Linked DNA regions of Homo sapiens: regions 2, 3, 4, 5 and 6 are each linked to region 1. The links are contacts of gene promoters, found by promoter capture Hi-C in human tissues and cell types (Jung and others, 2019). All regions are on one chromosome and are shown on one strand. The core of a region is centred on a gene start or on the middle of the fragment in contact, and the rest is flanking DNA. Distances in the headings are between cores, read along the strand shown.

What was found. Contacts are between HindIII fragments. The study calls those that stand out against the background at their distance.
Region 2: a fragment that was not itself captured here is called in contact with the fragment with the promoter of ZFAND3 in region 1 in 1 of the 25 tissues and cell types used here (lymphoblastoid cells).
Region 3: a fragment that was not itself captured here is called in contact with the fragment with the promoter of ZFAND3 in region 1 in 1 of the 25 tissues and cell types used here (aorta).
Region 4: a contact is called between a fragment that was not itself captured here and the fragment with the promoter of ZFAND3 in region 1, in 4 of the 25 tissues and cell types used here (dorsolateral prefrontal cortex, lymphoblastoid cells, mesenchymal stem cells and 1 more).
Region 5: a contact is called between a fragment that was not itself captured here and the fragment with the promoter of ZFAND3 in region 1, in 2 of the 25 tissues and cell types used here (hippocampus and mesenchymal stem cells).
Region 6: a contact is called between a fragment that was not itself captured here and the fragment with the promoter of ZFAND3 in region 1, in 3 of the 25 tissues and cell types used here (adrenal gland, pancreas and thymus).

What each region holds. Positions count from the first base shown.
Region 1 is chr6:37,818,408-37,821,021 of GRCh38, forward strand. It overlaps ZFAND3 (zinc finger AN1-type containing 3), which reads left to right and starts at 1,320. Exons shown (of 6, transcript NM_021943.3): 1 at 1,320-1,609. The coding sequence starts at 1,539. It overlaps ZFAND3-DT (ZFAND3 divergent transcript), which reads right to left and starts at 980. Exons shown (of 2, transcript XR_007059569.1): 1 at 171-980; 2 at 1-83. RefSeq lists enhancers at 527-916, 886-1,688 and silencers at 967-1,346, 1,387-1,616, 1,777-1,946. The HindIII fragment of the contact is 25,591 bases long and covers 1-2,614 here.
Region 2 is chr6:38,684,406-38,687,019 of GRCh38, forward strand. It overlaps GLO1 (glyoxalase I), which reads right to left. Exons shown (of 6, transcript NM_006708.3): 2 at 2,487-2,569; 3 at 1-109. Among named protein-coding and RNA genes, the nearest start is that of GLO1, 17 kb to the right of the region's middle. The HindIII fragment of the contact is 8,095 bases long and covers 1-2,614 here.
Region 3 is chr6:38,620,147-38,622,760 of GRCh38, forward strand. All of the region lies in intron 1 of BTBD9 (BTB domain containing 9), which reads right to left. Among named protein-coding and RNA genes, the nearest start is that of BTBD9, 18 kb to the right of the region's middle. The HindIII fragment of the contact is 3,822 bases long and covers 1-2,614 here.
Region 4 is chr6:38,527,178-38,529,791 of GRCh38, forward strand. All of the region lies in intron 6 of BTBD9 (BTB domain containing 9), which reads right to left. Among named protein-coding and RNA genes, the nearest start is that of BTBD9-AS1, 47 kb to the left of the region's middle. The HindIII fragment of the contact is 8,466 bases long and covers 1-2,614 here.
Region 5 is chr6:38,458,425-38,461,038 of GRCh38, forward strand. The region is part of intron 6 of BTBD9 (BTB domain containing 9); the gene reads right to left. Among named protein-coding and RNA genes, the nearest start is that of BTBD9-AS1, 22 kb to the right of the region's middle. The HindIII fragment of the contact is 4,329 bases long and covers 1-2,614 here.
Region 6 is chr6:38,441,483-38,444,096 of GRCh38, forward strand. The region is part of intron 6 of BTBD9 (BTB domain containing 9); the gene reads right to left. Among named protein-coding and RNA genes, the nearest start is that of BTBD9-AS1, 39 kb to the right of the region's middle. The HindIII fragment of the contact is 4,862 bases long and covers 1-2,614 here.

The DNA.
Region 1 (2,614 bases), core at 70-2,569:
GCGATGGGTCTCCAAAAGGTCTGGAGGATGTTGCCTCCGTGTTGAATTAGTCATCAATAATCGATTTCTCTGTTCATGACTAACTGGAGATCAGAATGAGCTCAGGATCAAGGACTAGGATCGTTAAAGGACTCATTTTTTTAGTGTCTCAAACTTCTTTGGTCACTTACCAATTTCCATTACTGATTCAGCTACAGCTCCCCTTTCCCCTCCAAAAACCAAACGTGTCAGCTGTAGGAAGAAGTGCGGCTCTCCTAGCCTGGGCATAGGGACTCGCCTGGGCATAGATAATGTACTTGTGGCTCTGTGGTTGGGAGTGGAGACAAGGAACTCCCCAACACCGGTGGGGGAGAAGAGACAAGGAAGTTGCCCCAGACAAGGGGCTGGGGGAGGGGCATTTCCCAAAAGTTCCTGTCAAGAGACCAGTATACCGGGTGGAACTATAAGAGTTGTTTGGGTGTGGCGGGACCAGGAAGAGAGAGAGAGATGCCCAGGGAGTTGGCAAATTGGGGAGAATGGCTCCCCGGAATCGCCCAGGAGCCAGAGCGGCAGCTCCAGGGACCTTGACTCCGACGCCCCCGGGAAGCCAGAGCTCCACTTCCGCGTTTGGCATTGCTCCCCCAGGCCCCTCCTCGCACTCGGTTACGGGTTCTACGGGCGCATGCGCCGCCACTCTGGGACTGGCCCAATTTACCCTACACAACTAATCTGCTCCTCCCCCTCCCGCTTGGAGCGCACCATTCGCGTTTAGGGGGAGGCACCGCGCCCCGGAGTACTCAGAAACCTGCTCCCCTTCTTCAGACAGGGGGAAGATAAGTTTGCTTCAGATTCTAAAAGTTCTAAGAATACGAAGGCCTCAGCCGCCCGTCGCCGGGCGACAGCCCGAGGCTCTCGTTTTCTCCCACAGCCCCGCACTCCGCCTTTGAGGCGCGGAACGAAGTGGCACGCCCGGATCCCAGCTGATCAGCGGCTGGGCTTTGGCGTTGGCTCCCCCGGGCGAGACCATTGTGACTCCTCGGGAGGGGCGCACGCCGGGGAGGGGGCGGAGCGGCCATTGTCCGGTCAGCGCAGCCTCCGGGGGAGGGGACGGTGTTACGGAGACAGCAGGGCCCGGGGCTTCAGAGCGGCCGCTGCGACTCCGGAGCCGGCGGGGGGCTCCGGTCCTTCCCTGCGCCACCGCACAGGACATCTCTCTGGCTGGGGAGCGGCGGTGAGACCCGCCGAGGGCGTCTGTGTCCCTCCTCCCCCGCGGTCCTCGGTGCGTCCGCACGCCCCTCCTCCTCGGCTCCCTCCTTCTTCTCTCCGCGCCTCTCCGCCCCCTCCCCGTCTCCGCAGGCCGAGTGGTGCGGCCCGCCTCCAGCTGACCGGCCTGGAATCCCGGCTCCGAGCCCCGGACTCGCGCCCGCCCGCGCGCCCGCTCCTTCCCCCTCCCCCCGCCCCGAGCCCCCCGACGCCGCCGCCACCGCCTCCTCAGAGCGGGGCCCGGGCCCAGCCGCCGCCACCGCTGCCGCCGCCGAGCTCCGCCGCCGCCGAGCACCATGGGAGACGCTGGGAGCGAGCGCAGCAAAGCGCCCAGCCTGCCGCCTCGCTGTCCCTGCGGCTTCTGGGGGTAAGTGCCCGGCCGGGTGGGGGCGGGGGGCGGGGGCCGGGGGCGCAGACGCCAGGGCAGCCTGGGCAGGCCTCGGGGCCCGGGAGGCCGGAACCTTGGAGGCTGGGCCCAGCCCGGGCCTACGGGGAGGGGGTGGGGGTCGCGTTCCGGGGAGGGGTGCCGGGTGGGGAGCTGGGGGTGGGCAGAGAAGGCCCTGCCGGGGGTGCGTTGCTACCCTTTGGGACTCGCCGGCCTGAAGCTCGGGCCCACGGGGGCCTCCTGGGCCACGGGTGAGGGGGGCAGGGCGGCGGGGAGGGATGAGGGGGCGGCGTTGACCGCTCCGGGAGGAGCAGGGGTGCCCCTTCCGTGGGCATGTGGAAGCCAGCCCTTCCTCCCTCCCGGGGCGTGAGTTGGTGCCCAGGCACTAGGAGGGTATTTCCTCTGACTTCTTCACCTCCCCTCCTCCCCGTCCTCCGGAGACTTGCATCATCACTTCCTAGATTATATCCCAGTGCCCCATTTGCTTTTAGGAAGCTATTCACACGTCACCCGTTTGTAAAAACCGAGTCCAGAACCAGGCTGGGGTAAAGTTATAAGATTGTTGAGGTCTCACCTTCATGTAAAACACGTTTCAGGAGATATGTAAAATTTCCTTGTCAAAAAGGAAGAAAAAAACCACACAAAACCTGAAGTCAGCCTGGATTGGGGAATATGAGATCCAGTTTCCTCAGTTGGCTCTCAAATTCTCCTCTTTCTCAATTTAAGTAAAAATGATAAAAATGTTGACAGTGGGTAGCATATATTGTTTGGCCATCATGTGTTAAGGCGAAAAAAATGTGAGGTGGGAAATCAGCTCCTCTTCCTCCCCCCATTACTGTTTAAATTCTCCTGGTAACACTTTAAGCTTCATGGATTGCCACCTAACAGGTGCCTCCATCATACCACATGACTGTAGTTCTGCAGTAAGAAAGCTGGAGACTTTGAAGGCTGGCTTTTGTGATTTGAGTCCCTTTTCTCTTTTATCGT
Region 2 (2,614 bases), core at 41-2,540, 870 kb after region 1:
CGCCCAGGCTATTTTTTCATCTTTTTCTTTAGGGATGTCATTTTTATCCTCATAAGCCAAGAAGTAGAGTGAAAACTTCATAATGGGAAAATCACATTTTTGGATTAGCCTGCAATGAAAAAACAACAAGCCTGAATCATTAACAACAGGAAAGGCTAATTCATACTATAATCAACATAACTTAATATTCAAGTTTTACTAAAAAGAAGAGCTATATGTAGTAAGCCTATTTTAATGGAATAAGCAGGAGGAAAAATCAGTGAAAAAATATCATGAAAAATGCATCTGTAAATATTTGAAATACAAAAATGAAAACTTCTGTAATTCATCAATTCTGTAAATATAGTAACATTTAGCTGAAATTATGGTACTTGTTAATAAATAGAAACGGCTATCTCCAAAAGAGAACTGTGTTTATTTGTACTGAAAAATATAAAGAACCTTGTTGCTATTTCATATATATACACACATACAAACACATATATAAATATGTCATTCAGTTAAATAAACACATTTATTGAGTTCTTACTATGCCAAAACATCTAGGAAAGGAAATTAAGGATAGGTGGTAAGAAAGAAGGAGGAAGGACAGACTAGTATCACAGAAGACGTGAATGTCAACAGTAAGGTGGCTAACAGTATCAGATACTGTAGAAAGGTCAAACAGTATTAAGACTAAGAAAAGGTCATGAGATATGGAAAGGTCCCATGAGAGCAATGTCAGCAGAGTGGGGAAGCATCAGCTGGATTACACTGTACTGGGGAGAGAGAATGGCAGGTGAGCAGGTAAAACAGTAGCAAGCATGGCAGTGACAATGGGGAGGTAGGCGAAGGAGCAGAGGGCAAGAAATATTCTGGAACAAAGAAGACTTACGCTTCTCTGAGGGGAAAGAGACAGTAGAAGAGACTGATGGGAGAGAGAGTGAATGAATTATGAATCCTGAGGTTTTAAGAAAGATAACTGAAGTCCTGAACCTTAAATGACTTTAAATGGTATAGGATTATTTGGCAAGGAGTAAGGTGGCATGAGAATGCATATATGATTTTCTTTAGATTATTCAAAGATGACTTTGTTCATAATCAATAAGAGCAAATGGCTGTTATTGCCATATAGCAAATGGAAAGTTTCTAGAGTTCTGCTTCCAATCTTTTATTTCATTATCACTGCTATATAATAGACCTTGGCCCACTTAGATCCTTGCATTGACTTATCACAAATAAGATTTACTCTAACATGTTTATAATAAAGTATCAAACACCTCAAATACTCCAATCATGAAAAACAATCTCTGCACCTACTAAAGCAGACTACACAACCCTCATGGACCAATCAGTTGGGACTGAAGGAAATGAAACTGTTGCAACTTGCTTTTCTCAGCTGTTCAAATCTTCCAGCTTACTGTCAACTTGTACCCTATTTGGGGGCTCTGCACAGGAAGTCTACATTAGAGCCCATCAGACAATGGATACAGGTTCCAGCCCTGCCATATGCCAACTGTGGGATTTGGAGCTAGTAACTTCATCTCATTAAGCTTTGGTTTCTCCGTCTGTGAAATGGGGATAAAAGCTACCTCCTAAGACTGGTGTGAAGACTGAACAAAATAACATTTGAAGTGCCTGGCAAAAGTGTTCAATAAATCTGTTTTCATTTTGTCCTTTAAATATGTCATAAATATATTCATAATACCTTTTTCTAGAAAAAAATCACAAGAAACTGGACAGCAGTTATCTCTGGGGAGAAGAACTTGGGGAGGGAAGCTATTACTTTTCATTTTGTATTTTTCTGAACTGGTCAAATTTTCTAAATATAGACATATATTACTTAAATTTTTCTCTCAATGTGAATGGAAGTTATCTAGGCACTAAATTTAAAGATTATTTTATTATTCATGTATCTATATGCTCAAAAGCAAAATGCTCACATAACTTAGGGAAACAAATCAACAATATGACAAAATTATTTCTCAATATACCTCAGTAAAGCTGGAGAAAAAAAGAAAAATAAACATGCTTTAGAAAAATAAGTATGCTTTAGGATTGCAAGATCAGTGGATATGACCTGTTGAGCAAAAGAAAACACAGCCTAGAAAAATAGAACAGATGGTCAGTTTTAAGTAAACCCATTGGTTTTCTGAGTAGTAAGTTCTTATTATCTATAACTTTTCTGAAGTAAACAAGAGGCTAAAAGTGGCCAGAACATCAAAAGGGGTCTGAACACATTAAGGATTTAGCTGGGAGCGCTCAGAGAAGGCAGACTGGAGAAAATGCAACTATTTGTGTCTTGTTTTGCCCTTTCAGGCTGGCTGGGATAGAGAAGAAAAAGAACTTACGAGAGAAGCCCTGTCCAGCCAGGCCTAATCACAGACTCCTGGCCAAAAGAACTTCTGTTACTTCTGAAACAAACTTTAAGATGGGTCTGAAAACACTCTCTAGATTTGCAAAGCTATATATTTAAACATTAAGGTGCCAATAAGTACTTGACTTACGTCATTCCAAGAACTCTAGTATAAAAATCCAGTGACTTCTTAGGATCCTTCACTCGTAGCATGGTCTGCTGCAATAGAAAATCCTATGGAAAAATATTTATATTAAACATCTTTCACTTTTACCATTT
Region 3 (2,614 bases), core at 68-2,567, 800 kb after region 1:
AAATGCAGCAGTCCCTGCAATACCCGAATTCTAGGAGTACAAAAACCAAAAGGTCAGTGGAGACTAGTGCAAGATCTTAGATTCATCAATGAGGCAGTAATTCCTCTACATTCAGTTGTACCCAACTCCTATACCCTGCTCTCTCAAATACCAGAGGAAGTGGAATGGTTCACTGTTTTGGACCTGAAGGATGCCTTCTTCTGCATTCCCCTGCACTCTGTCTGCCAGTTTCTCTTTGCCTTTGAGGATCCCACAGACCACACGTCCCAATTTACATGGACGGTTTTGCCTCAAGGGTTTAGGGATAGCCCTCATCTGTTTGGTCAGATATTGGCCCAAGATCTAGGCCACTTCTCAAGTCCAGGCACTCTGGTCCTTCAGTATGTGGATGATTTACTTTTGGCTACCAGTTTGGAAGCCTCATGCCAGCAGGCTACTCTAGATCTCCTGAACCTTCTAGCTAATCAAGGGTACAAAGCATCTAAACCGAAGGCCCAGCTCTGCCTACAACAAGTCAAATATCTAGACCTAAGCTTAGCCAGAGTAACCAGGGCCCTCAGCAAAGAACGAATACAGCCTATACTGGCTTGTCCTCGCCCTAAGACATTAAAACAGTTGCGGGGGTTCCTTGGGATCACCAACTTTTGCCAACTATGGATCCCTGGATACAGTGAGATGGCCAGGCCACTCTATACTCTAATCAAGGAGACCCAGAGGGCAAATAGTCATCTAGTAGAAAGGGAACGAGAGGCAGAAACAGCCTTCAAAACCTTAAAGCAGGCCCTAGTACAAGCTCTAGCCTTAAGCCTTCCCACAGGACAAAACTTCTCTTTATATGCCAGAGAGAGAGCAGGAATAGCTCTTGGAATCCTTACTCAGACTCACGGGACAACCCCACAACCAGTGACATACCTAAGGAAATTGATATAGTAGCAAAGAGCTGGCCTCACTGTTTACAGGTAGCTGTGGTGGTGGCCATCTTAATATCAGAGCCTATCAAAATAGTACAAGGAAAGGATCTCACTGTCTGGACTACTCATGATGTAAATGGCATACTAGGTGCCAAAGGAAATTTATGGCTATCAGACAACCACCTGCTTAGATATCAGGGGCTACTCCTTGAGGGACCAGTGCTTCAAATACGCACATGTGCGGCCCTCAACCCTGCTACTTTTCTCCCAGAGGATGGGGAACCAATCAAGCATGACTGCCAACAAATTGTAGCCCAGACTTATGCCGCCTGAGAGGAACTCTTGGAAGTCCCCTTAGCTAATCCTGACCTTAACCTATATACTGATGGAAGTTCATTTGTGGAGAATGGGATGCGAAGGGCAGGTTATGCCATAGTTAGTGATGTAACAGTACCTGAAAGCAAGCCCCTTCCCCCAGGGACCAGCACCCAGTTAGCAGAACTAGTGGTGCTTACCCAAGCCTTAGAACTGAGAAAGAAAAAAAGAATAAATGTGAACACAGATAGCAAGTACGCTTATCTAATCCTACATGCCCATGCTGCAATATGGAAAGAAAGGGAGTTCCTAACATCTGGGGGAACCCCCAATAAATACCACAAGGAAATCATGGAGTTACTGCATGCTGTACAAAAACCCAAGGAGGTGGCAGTCATACCCTGCCAAAGCCATCAAAAAGGTGAAGAGAAAAGGCAGAAGGAAACCGTCGGGCAGATGCTGAGGCCAAAATTGCTGCCAGGCGGAACCTCCCAACAGAAATACCTATGGAAGGACCCTTGGTATGGAACAACCCTGTCCAAGAGATTAAGCCCCAGTATTCCCTGACCAAAACAGAATGGGGACTTTCACAGGGGCATAGTTTTCTCCCCCTGGGGTGGTTAACGACATTAGAGGGGAAGGTACTCATACCCGAAGCCAGCCAGTGGAAAATACTTAAGTCCCTCCACCAAACTTTTCATATGGGTATTAAGAACACTCATCAAATGGCCAAATCCCTATTTACAAGGCCAAATCTCCTCTGGACCATCTGACAAGTAGTCAAAGCCTGTGAGGTGTGCCAAAGGATAATCCCTCGGTCCGTTGTAAGGCCCCTCTGGGGCAACAAAGAATAGGGCACTATCCCGGGGAGCACTGGCAGTTAGACTTCTCCCATATGCCTAAGTCAAGGGGATTTCAATACTATGTTAGTCCCTGTTGATAACTTTACAAATTGGATAGAAGCCTTCCCCTGCAAGACAGAGAAGGCTCAGGAAGTGGTTAAAGTCCTAATTCATGAAATAATTCCTAGATTTGGGCTTCCCCAAAGCTTACAAAGTGACAATCGTCCAGCTTTTAAAGCCACAGTAACTTAGGGAATTTCCAGGGCACTAGGGATACAATATTACCTTCACTGCACCTGGAGGCCACAATCCTCAGGCCCCATCTCTGATAGGACCAAAAATACCCTAATAGGATACGCAATCCAGCTTTTATGCTCTTACATTTCCAACCTCACCTATTACACAAGCAATGAAAAGCCTATACATGGCCCTGTAACCACGAACACCGTGTTAACTTTCCAAGCCCCTTTATGCATCCAATGCAACCTGTTATCAGGCCTGCCCCTGGGGCACCTACTATCCCATCAGTGTAATTACACCCTACAA
Region 4 (2,614 bases), core at 40-2,539, 710 kb after region 1:
AGGCAGGAGAATCACTGGAACCCAGGAGTTAGAGGTTGCAATGAGCCAAGATCGCACCACTGCACTCCAGAGCGAGACTCTGTCTCAAAAAAAAAAAAAAAAAAAAAAAAAAAAAAAAAGATGTGATTTGGTGGGGGCCAGGGCAGAATGATATGACTTGGTTCTGTGTCCTCACCCAAATCTCATGTCTAATTGTAATCCCCATGTATCAAGGGAGGAAACTGTAATCCCCACATGTCAAGGGAGGGAGGTGACTGGATCACAGGGGCAGTATCCCCCATGCTGTTCTCATGATAGTGAGTGAGTTCTCACGAGAGGTGATCATTTTATAAGGCAGTTTTCCCTGCTCTTGCTCACTCTCTCTCCTGCAATCTTGTGAAGGTGCCTGCTTCCCCTTCTGTCATGACTGTATGTTTCCTGAGGCCTCCCTAGCCATGCAGAACTATGAGTCAATTAAACCTCTTTCCTTTATAAATTACCCAGTCTTGGATAGTATCTTTACAGCAGTGTGAAAAGGGACTAATACAAGGACATTCTACATTGTAGTTAAACCACATCAATATAAGTCAGAATCATAATCAGAAACCAATTTCCTAGGAAAGGAAAGACTCTATCACCATGATTCCCACTTTTTTTTTAATCATGACAAATCACTCTCATGAAAATCAGAAATAGGAAGGCAGAATAAGACAGCCGAACAGAATCCTCCGGTGATCATCCCTCCAGCAAGAACACCAAATTTAACAACTATCCACATAAAAAAAGCCCCTTCATAAGAATGAAGAGTCAGGTAAGTGATCATAATAATATTATATTAAGGAAAGAGGCACTGAAGAGGGTAGGAAAGACAGTCTTGAATCACCTACAACATCCCTTCCCCATTCCCCAGTAGTGGCCATGGCCATGTGGCACAAAGAGAGAATCTGTGCACTTGGAGGGAGGCAGAGTGTAGTGACTGTGGGACTTTGCATTGGAACTCAGTGCTATTTTGTCACAGTGGAAAGCAGCACTGGGCAGAACTCAGTTGGCACCTATCAGAGGGAGCATTTAGACCAGCCCTAGCCAGAAAGAAATTGCCCACCCCAGGGCTCAGAACCTGAGTCCTGGCAAGCCCTGCCACCACATGCTAAAGTGTTCCGGGGCCTTCAATGAACTGGAAAGGCAGTCTAGACCACAAGGAATTAAATGTCTATGCAAGTCCTGGTGCTGTGCTGGGCTCGAAGCCAGTGGACCTGGGGGGCACGTGACCCAGTGATACACAAGCCAGGGTGGCCACGGAAATGCTTGCAACACCCCTCCCCCAATCCCAAGCAGCACAGCTCGCAGCTCTCAGAGAGACTTCTTACCTCTGTTTGAGAAGAGGAGAGGAGAAGGAAGAGTATTTTGTCTTAACATGGATAACAGCTCAGTCATGGTAGAATATGGCACCAGGCAGAATCCTGAGGCCCCCATTCCAGGTGCTAGCTCCCAGATGACACTTCTAAACACATCTTGGGCCAGAAAGGAACTGTTGCCTTGAAGGGAAGGACCCAGTCCTGGCAGAATTCATTACCTGCTGACTAAAGAGCCTTTGGGCCCTGAATAATTAACAGGAATAGCCAGGCAGGCAGTACTCATTGTGGGCCTTGGGTAAGACTAAGAGCTGTGCTGGCTTCAGGTGTGTGACCCACCACATTCCCAGCTGTGGTGGATACAGGAAGAGATCCTTTCTGCTTAAGAAAAAGAGAGACAAGAGTAAATGGGACATTGTCTTGCAGCTTGGGTGCCAGGTTGGCCACAGTGGGATAGAGCACCAAGTGGGCTCCTGGAGTCCCCAGTTCTAGGCCTTGACTCCTGGGTGGCAATTCTGGACCTGTCCTGGTCCTGAAGGGAGCCCACTGCCCTGAAGGAAGAGACTCAGGACTGGCAGCATTCACTACAAGCTGACTGAGAAGCCCTTGGGACTTGAATGAACATCAGCCATAGCCAGGCAGTGGTCACTGTGGGGCTTGGGAAAGACCCATTGCTAAGCTGGCTTCAGGTCTGAATTAACAGCCTGTATCACCCCTCCTCCAGTTCCAGGCATCTCAGCAGAGAGAGACTCCATTTGTTTGGGGGAAAGAAAAGAAGAGTCTCCACCTGGTAATCCAAGAAATTCTCTTGGATATTACCCAAGACCACCAGGGTGGTACCTCTATGAGTCTGCAAGACCCACAGTGTTACTAAGCTTGGGGTGCCCCCTAAAGCAGATATAGCTGCAGTGACCAAAGACTTAGATCCCTTTGACTACCTGGGAAGCCTTCCCAAGAAGGACAGATACAGACAAGCCCAGACTGCAAAGACTACAACAAATACCTAATCTCAGTGTCCAGACTCTGATGAACACCCACAAGCATTAAGACCATCCAGGAAAACATGACCTCACATGTTGCGGGAAGTCAGGGACCCCGAACAGAGGGACTGGCTGGAGCCTCGGCGGAGGAACATAAATTGTGAAGATTTCATAGACATTTATCAGTTCCCAAATAATAACTTTTGTAATTTCTTATGCCTGTCTTTACTTTAATCTCTTAATCCTGTTATCTTCATAAGCTGAGGATGTACGTCACCTCAGGACCACTATGATAATTGTGTT
Region 5 (2,614 bases), core at 60-2,559, 640 kb after region 1:
ATTTGATTTGTCCTCCCAAAAGACTCAGGAAATAGCCTTCCCTAAAAGGCTTAGAAAATAGCCTAAACAAAAGCTCAGGATAATCCTATCATGATATAAGATTCCCCTCCTCAACAGTCTAGCTTTATTGGAAGGAAAAATGTAACATCATAACTCAGCAAAAACTAGAATAGACAGATCCCTAACAGGAAGAACTAACCAAAGATACCTGACATCATTCTAGCAGTTTTCAAAATATACTGTGAGTTTTCACTGTAGCAACATATTTCTACACAAACAACACACACAAAATCTCACTTTGTGGTCAGAAGCAAGGTCATCTGGATTATTTGAAAAATGGCAAATGGCAAAGTACCACTTATATGAATAATGGTAAATTGAAGAATATATTGATTCTGTTTCCCCCCTCCTTATAACAAATGAGAATACACAAAAAATTTAAGTATGACAAAAAAAGGCCATTTTATGAGCATCTTTGCCAGTTGAATACTTTAATTATATGACATCAAATGTTCTATTAAAGGTATTATTTCAAAGATGCCAGGCAAAGCGTAATTCATGCTATATAAAAGTCTGACCATGCTTTTATTTTTTATTTATTTTTATTTTTTGGAGACAGAGTCTCACTCTGTTGCCCAGGCTGGAGTGCAATGGTGTGATCTCGGCTCACTGCAACCTCTGCCTCCTGGGTTCAAGCAATTCTCCTGCCGCAGCCTTTCAAGTAGCTGGGATTACAGGTGCGCACCACCACGCCTGGCTAATTTTTGTATTTTTAGTAGAGACACGGTTTCACCATGTTGGCCAGGCTGGTCTCGAACTCCTGACCTCAGGTGATCCCCAGCCTCGGCCTCCCAAAGTGCTGGGATTACAGGCGTGAGCCATGTGCCTGGCTATGACCACCCTTTTATAACAAAGACATTTATCACTGAATATCCATGAGCTCTCCCACAATTCTCCAGCTAGTTTGCAGTTAGGTGAAGTCATGTTACTGGTTCTGGCCAATGGGTTGTGAGTTGAAGAACATACCACTTTCATGCTGAAAAATGTAAATGCTGGTGTATGAATCATCAACTCTGGCTTCCCATGCTGCAGTGCTGAAGGAAGCTACATGTTCCAGATAGTACAGCTATAAGAGGATAGAGCCTCCATTAGCCTAAGTCCCTGAGAGCCTACGAGGAACAGAATCCTTGACCTATGGCAGATGTGTAATGTCAACAAGAAATAGACTTTTGTTATGCTAAGTTACTGAGATTTTGTTTTTGTTGCTGTTATTACAATACAGCTTAGCCTATCCTTACCAATACACCTTCACAGTTAAAAATTATGTTCATAATTTGCTCAAAAAACCCACTTCACACTGCACACAGGTACATTTAATTTGCAAGTATAATTATTTGCAAAGACCATTTATTTTAAAGTAGAAGTCAATATGTAGCCTTTGATTTTAAAAGAGCCATTTTATTTCTTACTGTGACCTCCAGAATTGATTTGTCTACCGTGGTTTTACAACATTACGAGAACAGAGTTTTAGCTTTGTATTATTTCATTTCTTTCATCATTTTAGAAGATCATCTCAAGCTAGCTTATGATATAAATTTCAATTAGAAAATCCTAGCAAAACAGTCTATTTAACAGAGTGGGAAGTCAATGCTAATACAATTATTTCGGGGAGATAATCTGTTTGCTTATATTTTAACACCTAAGTTAACAGACTTCTCTGTTACAACACTAAACTTCCAAGGATCTGCATCTAAACCTTAGGCAGTAAGAAAATGTAAACATCACATTTCTGTAATACATGAGTTTCTCTGTACTGTCTATTTAAGTTCTGTGTTTTCTTCCTTTCCAATTTAGCAATATCACAGCAATCATCAAACAGCTGGATCCGAGAAATGATCAAACCAGTCTGCCCCTTATGTCATTTCTACCCAGGAATCTGACAACACATTCCTATTTGTTTTGTGGTTAGTAACAACATTAGTCTGAACATCATTATGCACACCGCAGTTGCGTATTTATTTCCCCTTCCAAGAGAAAAAAGAATTTACTGGTGTAATATAAGAACAATAGGACACCCCTACACTAATAGCTAGTGAATTTATAATAAACAAAAAGAAATGTTTCTTCACATACCATATAGACACTCAGCCAACCCACAGAATGTGTTACTAATCATTTCACAGTTAGGGTTTTTTTTGTTTTTGTTTTTGTTTTTTTGAGACGTAGTCTTGCTCTGTCACCGAGGCTGGAGTGCAGTGGCGTGATCCCGGCTCACTGCAGCCTCTGCCTCCTGGGTTCAAGCAATTCTCCTGCCTCAGCCTCCCAAGTAGCTGGGACTACAGGCGCCTGCCATCACGCCCGGCTAACTTTTGTATTTTAGTAGAGACGGGGTTTCACCATGTTTCCCAGGCTGATCTCCGTCTCCTGACCTCAGGTGATCCGCCCACCTTGGCCTCCCAAAGTGCTGAGATTACAGGTGTGAGCCACCACGCCCGGCCCCACAGTCTGGGTTTTTTTAAAGGCTGGATAACTTAGTAATTAATGAAATATTTTATGTTTGTCACCTAACTATGAAAGTAATTAAATTTGGTTCTTCAGGAAATTGCCTCCCTGG
Region 6 (2,614 bases), core at 41-2,540, 620 kb after region 1:
CAATCATGGCTCACGGCAGCCTTGAACATCTGAGATGTTCCCACCTCAGCTTCGGGAGTAGCTAGGACTACAGGCACCCGCTACCGTGCCTGGCTAGTTAAAAAAAATTTTTTTTCATAGAAACAGATCTCATTTTGTTGCTCAGGCTGGTCTTACACTCCTGGGCTCAAGTGATCCTCCCACCTTGGCCTCCAAAAGCACTAGTATTAAAGGCATGAGCCACCACACCCAGCCTCTGAGAGATATTAAGAAAGCAATAATAGCTGGCATTTATTGAGCTTTTACTGGGTGCCAGATACTATTCTAAGTGCTTTACATATATTACCTCATTATTCCTGACAACAACCTATGAAGTGGATGTTATCAACAGTCCAATTTTACATATGGCCCAAACAAAAGTTAAAGTCATACAGTTATACCTAAAGGTATACAACTAGAAAGTACAGAGCTGAGAGATAACCCAGTCTGGTTCTACAGCCCCTCTCTGATGCATGAAGCCTTCCTCCCAAAATTCCCGAGATGGTAAAAGTTCCTATTTTAAGGGACCAGGCAAAACTGCGGCAAGAGAGAATAGCTTCCCAGTACTAGATTGCACAGAAATACATATAACAAAATCACAGTGCCTTCATAATGCTGATGTTGGTGAGACAGTTTTTGTTAGGCTCCATTGCTGTTTTGTAGGGGCAACATTTTGTCTGTGAATTCCTATAATAACAGAGTCTGGGCCGGGTGCAGTGGCTCACACCTGTAATCCCAGCACTTTGGGAGGCCGAGGCGGGCAGGTCACGAGGTCAGGAGTTCGACACCAGCCTGGCCAACATAGTGAAACCCCGTCTCTACTAAAAATATAAAAATTAGCTGGGCATGGTGGTGCCTGCCTGTAGTCCCAGCCTACTCGGGAGGCTTGAACCTGGGAGGCGGAGGTTTCAGTGAGCCAAGATCACGCCACTGCATTCCAGCTTGGGCAAGAGAGCGAGACTTCATCTCAAAAAAAAGTCGTACTATATATATATTTAAAATAAAAACAGAAGTACTAAGTACATGGAGAGGAAGAATACACCCAAAGAAGTTAATATGATGACCCCAGAAGCTTCACCCAGTCCACACTGTTTAACAACAGATGTCCCTCCTGTGAAGAAGGAAAGTTGGAGGTCATATAGAACAGACTCATTTGTACTCTTTTTTTTTTTTTTTTTTTTTTTTTGAGATGGAGTTTCGCTTTTGTTGCCCAGGCTGCAGTGCAATGGTGCAATCTCGGCTTACCGCAACCTCTGCCTCCCAGGTTCAAGTGATTCTCCTGCCTCAGCCTCCTGAGTAGCTGGGATTACAGGCATGTGCCACCATACCCAGCTAAATTTGTATTTTTAGTAGATAGGGGTTTTTCCATGTTGGTCAGGCTGGTCTCAAACTCCCAACCTCAGGTGGTCTGCCCGCCTTGGCCTCCCAAAGTGCTGGGATTACATGTGTGAGCCACCGCGCTTGGCCCATTTGTGCTCTTAAAACATAAAAGGATCAAGGATTTTTTAAAAAAAAATTGTAAGAAACTCAAGCTAGACAGAATCATCTTAATTTCTGCTATGTTTGTGAAGCAAGTATTGACTTGGCAGGCAAATGGATTGTGGTGGTATGACTTTGTAACACAATGGACCACATGAACAATTTAACAAACAAAGCTAGAATTCTATACTAACTTTATCAGAGAAGAAAAATTCAGGCTGCTGTGAGGGGAATCAACAGAGACTGAAACCCTGACACTGACAGACAAATGTCCTCTGAAGCCAATATATAACACACTTAAGATTAGTTTAGGCTGGTCTTGCTTCTAGGTGAAGGGGTGAGAATATGTTTTCCCTGGCTCAACTTACCACACCTCAATGCCTACAGATGTGTTATCACCTAACTGTTCACTTGTTTCTGTCATGTGTTTTCATGTTCATTTCACAATGCATGCCCTGCCCCTGTCTCACTTTCCCCTTATTCTGGCATATCAACTCGTATTTCCCAATTTCCCACTATAAAGGGCATACAGTGCTACCACTTCCTCTCTCCTCCAAAATAGCTTCTCCACCATTCTCACTCATTATAGGGATTAGCAAGCAGGCAGCTGCTCAAGCCAGAAATCAGGAAGTTGGCCCTGAACACACTCTCTTTGTCTCTCTCTCTCTTTCTCTCGCTCACTCATTTCCACCTCTTACCCACATGCACACATCCAATTAATCGCCAAGTCCTAAACTGGCTTCCTTCTAAATCTCTCAAATCTATTTACATCTCCTGCCCTTGTTGCTACGACCTTAGCCTCCTAGCTAGCATCTCTTCTCTCATCAAAATTACTAAACAGTCTCCTTACTGGTCTCCCCATCCACTCTGAGCTCCCTCTAATCCACTCCACACCTCTGCCCAGGGGTATGATTCTTCAAAACGGAGCGGTTTTGAAAGATACAAATCTGCTTGTGTCATTCCCCTGCTTAAGTGGTTTCCTGCCTCTACAGGCTGCATCAGTGTGACCTAATCTGCTCTTGCCTTTGGTCACTGTGCTCTCTTCTTAACAGGCTTCTCCCAGTTCTTCACACTGGGTACCTGATCACTAAGTGCTGGACCTTCTTTGTCCATACCT